Regions from separate parts of the Homo sapiens genome. Here region 1 is linked to region 2. The links are contacts of gene promoters, found by promoter capture Hi-C in blood cells and fetal thymus (Javierre and others, 2016). All regions are on one chromosome and are shown on one strand. The core of a region is centred on a gene start or on the middle of the fragment in contact, and the rest is flanking DNA. Distances in the headings are between cores, read along the strand shown.

The links. The method cuts DNA at HindIII sites, captures the fragments that hold promoters and counts their contacts. A CHiCAGO score of 5 or more calls a contact.
Region 1: a contact is called between a fragment that was not itself captured here and the fragment with the promoter of CDCA7 in region 2, in 1 of 17 cell types (fetal thymus). The highest score is 6.7, in fetal thymus.

Annotation. Positions count from the first base shown.
Region 1 is chr2:174,484,672-174,487,371 of GRCh38, reverse strand. GPR155 (G protein-coupled receptor 155) reads left to right here and starts at 343. Exons shown (of 16, transcript NM_152529.7): 1 at 343-499. RefSeq lists silencers at 203-382, 646-828 and an enhancer at 723-792. The HindIII fragment of the contact is 201 bases long and covers 1,320-1,520 here.
Region 2 is chr2:173,353,437-173,356,136 of GRCh38, reverse strand. CDCA7 (cell division cycle associated 7) reads right to left here and starts at 1,265. Exons shown (of 10, transcript NM_031942.5): 1 at 1,153-1,265. The coding sequence starts at 1,173. RefSeq lists a silencer at 1,054-1,323 and enhancers at 1,874-1,963, 1,266-2,221. The HindIII fragment of the contact is 4,998 bases long and covers 1-2,700 here.

The DNA.
Region 1 (2,700 bases), core at 171-2,670, 1.1 Mb before region 2:
GCGGCTGGGAGGCTCCCAGCCGGCAGGGCGGGGCCGGGTACCCTGGGGCTCCGAGGCTGGAGGAGGGGGCGGGGACTGAAGGCGGGGTTGGGGAACGTGTGGCTCGGAGGCCCGAGGCTGTGGGTGGGGCCTGAGGGCGGGACGGAGACTCTGGGCTCAAGGCTCCTGGAAATGGGCGGGGCTCGAGGGCGGGAAGCGGCCCGTCTTGCTGGAAGTTCGGGGCTGGGGGCGGGGTCTGAAGGCGGGGCTGGGAGGGAGCGGGGCCTGAAGGCGGGGCGGGGGCGGGGCCTCGCGGCCGGCGAGGGGCTGAGCTGACAGGGCCGCATCGGCTTACCCCACCTTACTTTATCGGAACGTGCCTAAGCTGCTGCAGCTGGCACCCGGTTGCGCTCGGCGAAGAGGGCTGGGGGCGGGAGATGACGGTGGTCTTCTCCCTGCTTGGCACCCTGCGAGCACCAGCTCCCTTCTCCTCGCCACTCCAAGGTTGCAGACGAAGCAGGTGAGAGGGGCCCCTGGAGCGCGGACCTGCTGGGTCCTGGTTCTCCCTTGCGGGCACGGGGTACCCCTGCCTCTGCCCCTCAGGCCTGGGCACGTGGGCAGCCGCCGACCCTCTGCGCCCTGGCCCCGCGGCCCGTTGTCTGGACCTGCTGTCTCTGCCCCGCAGCGCCTGCCTGTGGAACGTGTGAGATCACCCGGGAAGGCTCGCGCGGGGGAGGGGGTGTCTCGTCCCCTCCGGAGACAGAACTGCCATCCCTAGTTTGGGAAGCTCCTCACTGCACGGGCGTCCACCCTGTCTTTCTTAGACTCTTCCCTTTATCCCGAGGGTACCCTCAGTATCTGGCCCTTCCGAAGGCTTCTGCCCAGGCACCTGGAGCACTGCGCCAAATTTTCTCCCTTACCCGTTTTTGGGGTATGTTAGTTACCATGACGTTGTGACTCCCGTGCCCTGGGAAGACTAGCGACCACCTTTTTCTTACGCCAGGCAAAGACCCCTGGCTGCCTTTCCACTTCCACAGCTGCCTTCCCAGGGGTTGGCTGGCAGCTGCTCTCCGAGCAGCCTATTCGGTTAGGAACTCTCTGCGCCCCTTATCTTGGAGGGCCACAGTCTGTCCCTGCAGACGAGGCAAGGAGGCAGTGCTCAGCGCTCCCTACCCTGGGTCTCTAGGGAGGACATTTGGCGCCCTGCAAGTAGGTAGGAGTGGGTGAATGGTGCGACTATTAATGTTGAAGAGTGCTCTAATAGTACCACACTGTATTACACTTATCCCACGGGATAAAGGATGTTGGATGTTTGAGAAATAGCCTGAGAGTTTAAAGCTTTCTCTATGAAGTTAGTCAACCCTCGCCTTCCCCCCGCATTTTCACTTAATAGCAGTTATTTACAGTATCAGTGGTTCGTTTATGTGATCTAAGCCAAATGTGATGTGGCTAGAAGCGGTTTGTAAGTACAGTAGCATTTCTTCAGTTCGTGCCTCAGCGAGTGGTCTTTTACTGTGAACGTGTTTGTTCTGTAACAAGCTTTGTTTTTATAGATAAAAAGGCTGGATGTAATTTTTTTTTTAAAACTTCCCTTGCTGTGGTTCCTGTTCATTTTAAAATATGCTTTAGAAAGCATATTATCTTCCCGTTTAAAAAAGATTAGGATGAAATGAAACTTTTAAAGTCATTTTGATTATTTTGACTTTACCTCAGCAGGTATTTCTTTTATAATACTGAGAAACGTTAAAAGAAACCTCATGGGGAGGGGCAGATTGCTTTTTTTTTTTTTTTTTCTTGAGACGGAGTCTTGCTCTGTTGCTCAGGCTGGAGGGCAATGGCAGGATCTCGGCTCACTGCAACCTCTGCCTCCCGGGTGCAAGAGATTCTCCTGCCTCAGCTTCCCGAGTAGCTGGGATTACAGGCATCTGCCACCAAGCCCGGCTAATTTTTGTCTTTTTAGTAGAGACAGGGTTTCACCATGCTGGCCAGGCTGGTCTCCAACTCCCGACCTCAGGTGATCCGCCCGCCTCGACCTCCCAGAGTGCTGGGATTACAGGCGTGAGCCACTGCGCCCGGCCCTTTTTTTTGTTTTGTTTTTTTGTTTTTTAATTTTTCAACGAATTGAAAGTTAATCTTGGACATTGCTACAACTATTTGACCATCACCCTGAGAAAAATGAAGAGCTCTGCCTTCACTGTTAACCATTTACTATCAAACCAAATTAAATTCAACTTATCTTAATTGTTTGGTATAAAACAAAAACTGATAAATTTATGACGCATCCCATCCCTCTTTTTTTAGTTGGTGGATCTTTTACCAGTTATGTTTGAAGAACTAACATGTTTACTTTTTTATCATTATTAGTAGTAAGACAACAGTTCCTAATAGCAATTGCTGCCGTTTTTTGAAGGCCTACTCTGTGATAAGCTGTATATAAAATATTCTATCCACACAATATCCCTCTAAGGAGGTCTTTGTTTGAGACAGGGTCTTACTCAGGCTGGAGTGCAGTGGTGTGATCATGGCTCACTGCAGAGACCTCCTAGGCTCAGGTGATCCTCCCACCTCAGCCTCCCAGGTAGCTGGGACAACAGGCACGCATGACTAAGCTCAGCTAATTTTTTGTAGAGACTAAGGTTTTGCCATGTTGGCCAGGCTGGTCTGAAACTCCTGGGCTCACACAGTCCACCTGCCTGGGCCTCTCAAAATGCTGGGATTACA
Region 2 (2,700 bases), core at 16-2,515:
GCGTTTTTCGTGCCAGGCACTATGTTAAGTACACTTTCACGTCAGGTTTAATTCTTTGCAACAAAGGTGCTATCGTTATTCTCACTTAGCCAATGAGGAAACTGAGGCTCAGGAAAGCGAAATGGATTACTCAAGTCCCATGGTGGCTCAGATTTGAACTCAGGCATGTCAGGTTCCAAGACCAGCTACACATGGTTTTCTTCATCCGGAAAGCCAATGCCCAGCTCCACCGGGGCGGCGACTCAGCTCTGAAACCACGCCCCATCGCACCCACCCCCGCGAGGGTCCCTAACCCCTGATATTTATTTTAAACATGTCATTGTCTTCCGTTTCACCCAACCCCCACTCTTCTACCCTCTCCAGGAGCCCGACCCTACGTTCTGGCTTCCGTTAGAGCAAAAAGTAACGTTCCACTCAGAGCAACGTCCTGCAGCTAAGAGTAAGGCTGGGGGGTGGGGGGTGGGGGGTTGGGGGTTGGGGTGGAGGAAGTAGGAAACGAGCAAATGGTCGGCGAACGCTTTGACCCACCAAGCCCTTTAAATGCACTTAACCACCGCCCGGGACTACGGTCGCTTCACACTGCGTGCGCAGCCCAAGTTCTAGGAGACCGGTTCGCAAGACCTTAAACCTCAGACGCGCTGGCCCTCAGCGGTTAGAAGCGGACGCGTCTCTTGCCGGGCGGGGTGCGCGCCCAAGGGCCACCCACTGAGCGCGGGTATAGACGCGGCGAGCCACGCACTGGCTCCGAGTTGTGTGCGGGAAAGGGCTGGGCCGCTGCGGGACAACCTCCCAGGGGGCAGGCAGGCTGGCTCTGCCTGGCAGGCAAAATCGGGACCGGCCAGCGCTCCCGGCCGCTGTCCGGCCTTTGGCGGACGCACGTGCCTAGGGCTTTCCAGCGCTGCTAGCCATCCTGCAAACGACTCAAGTCTCCACGCCGCCCGCACTTCGGGTGCGCACGCCACGCAGGAACGTCCCCATGGCCCTCAGTTATCCCAGGTGCACAAAATCAGGGGCTTGCCCAAGCGGGCAACGCCTAGGCAGGCCACCAGTTAAGGCAGCGCTAGGCTGCGGAGTTGGAGAGGGTCGGCCCGCGCCCGCCTGCGTCCAGCACCCACCGCGCCCGCCCCTCGGGTTCGCCCGCCCAGCCCTCACCGGCACGCGGCGAGCGTCCATGCTGGTGGCGGGTGCCCAGATCGGCGCTTGGAGCGGGGAGAGCGGAGCAGCCGCGCGGTCAGCGGTCCCACAGCAGGAGGAGCAGCAGCAGCGCGGCTGGCAGGCTGGGCGCGCCGACCCGGGCCCGGAGGGGCGGGGCTCGGGCTGTCTTTCCCGCGTTGGGACACAGGTCCTGCAAGCTGTGGTAACGGCCAGACATGGCGCAAGACTAGGTGGCCCCCTGGAAAAAACACGACCCCCCTATATATTCTGACCTCAAAGGATAGCCTTGGGCACTCCTAAAATCCCCTTTGAGAAAGGGGGGCTTTAGGGGCTACGGGGACCACTCTCCTTGTGCAGCTGCGCGGTCCTGAGCGAGTGGCGCGAAAATGGTTCGTATTGCCCCGGGGTTAGCTGTCTGATTTGCAAGAATTTTCGTGGTGGCGGAGGAAAAGTGGAGTCTGGGGGGTAAAGGAGAGCAGCGTGAGGGTGGCGCGGGTCACGCACCATGGCGTTTAGCACTTTCATTGCTGCGTGCGGTTTACAAGATTTAAAAAATCATAGAATCCAGCACGAACTCCACCCTTCATAATCGAGTTCACCGCCCCTGGATGTAGCACCTCTTATCTGGGAACCACACCATTATCTGAAGCAATAAAATGAGTTAAATCCTGATCTTTCTTTCCAAAAAGCACAGGAAGCCGACTTGTTTACTTGTGGTTTTCAAAGTAGAAGAAAAGCCGCAGCAGCTTGATGAAGACGTCTATAGTATAGTTAACCTTTAACGATTATCTGTTGGGGATTGAAACTAAAGATTGAACAATTGTGGCTTGATGATCTTCTCTGTCTTCAGAATTGAGAACTACCCTGAGTCAGTGCGAACGAGAAAACTTTTCATTGCCCTTTTAACCAAACTTGGCATTACAACGAAAAAATGAAATAAAGCGAGGCTTTTTGTGTGCGTGAAGAGCAAAACTTGCTTCTACAAGAAAAAGTAAATTTAGTTTCTTTAGAAGACACTAATTATACTCTTAACATTTAAAACAAGCGCTTGAAATGAAAACATTCGCATTTCCCCCTCATTTCAAAACTTTTCTCTGGGGAATAATTAATTCCTTTGCAGTAAGAGAGTGCATGGACATACTGTGTTCCTCTCTTGGTGTACTGAATACAAAAACTGTGAGCAAGTAAATAATGCCCGAGGACAATGGATTGGAAGGAGTCTTCCAGCCTTTCTTAAATATACCTACCCAGTAATCACTCTGCCACTGTGCAAGGGACAAAGAGCTCAAGGTCTAGAAGGTGAGTGCCAGGAGGAGAGGCTATCGGTGGGTGGTGAAATTACGGAATTACAGGGCCCTCAGTAAGTATTTGTTGAATGAATAAACATTTGGGAATATAATTTTGTGCCACTAAAGCTAAATATATGAAAATTTGGAATTACTAGATCCATGAAGCAGGGGAAGATTAAGTCACTTTGCCTGTGAAAGGTTCTGATAGGGAAATTTTTAGTCTTCCTGGGAGCACAAGAAAATAATTTGGTGTATG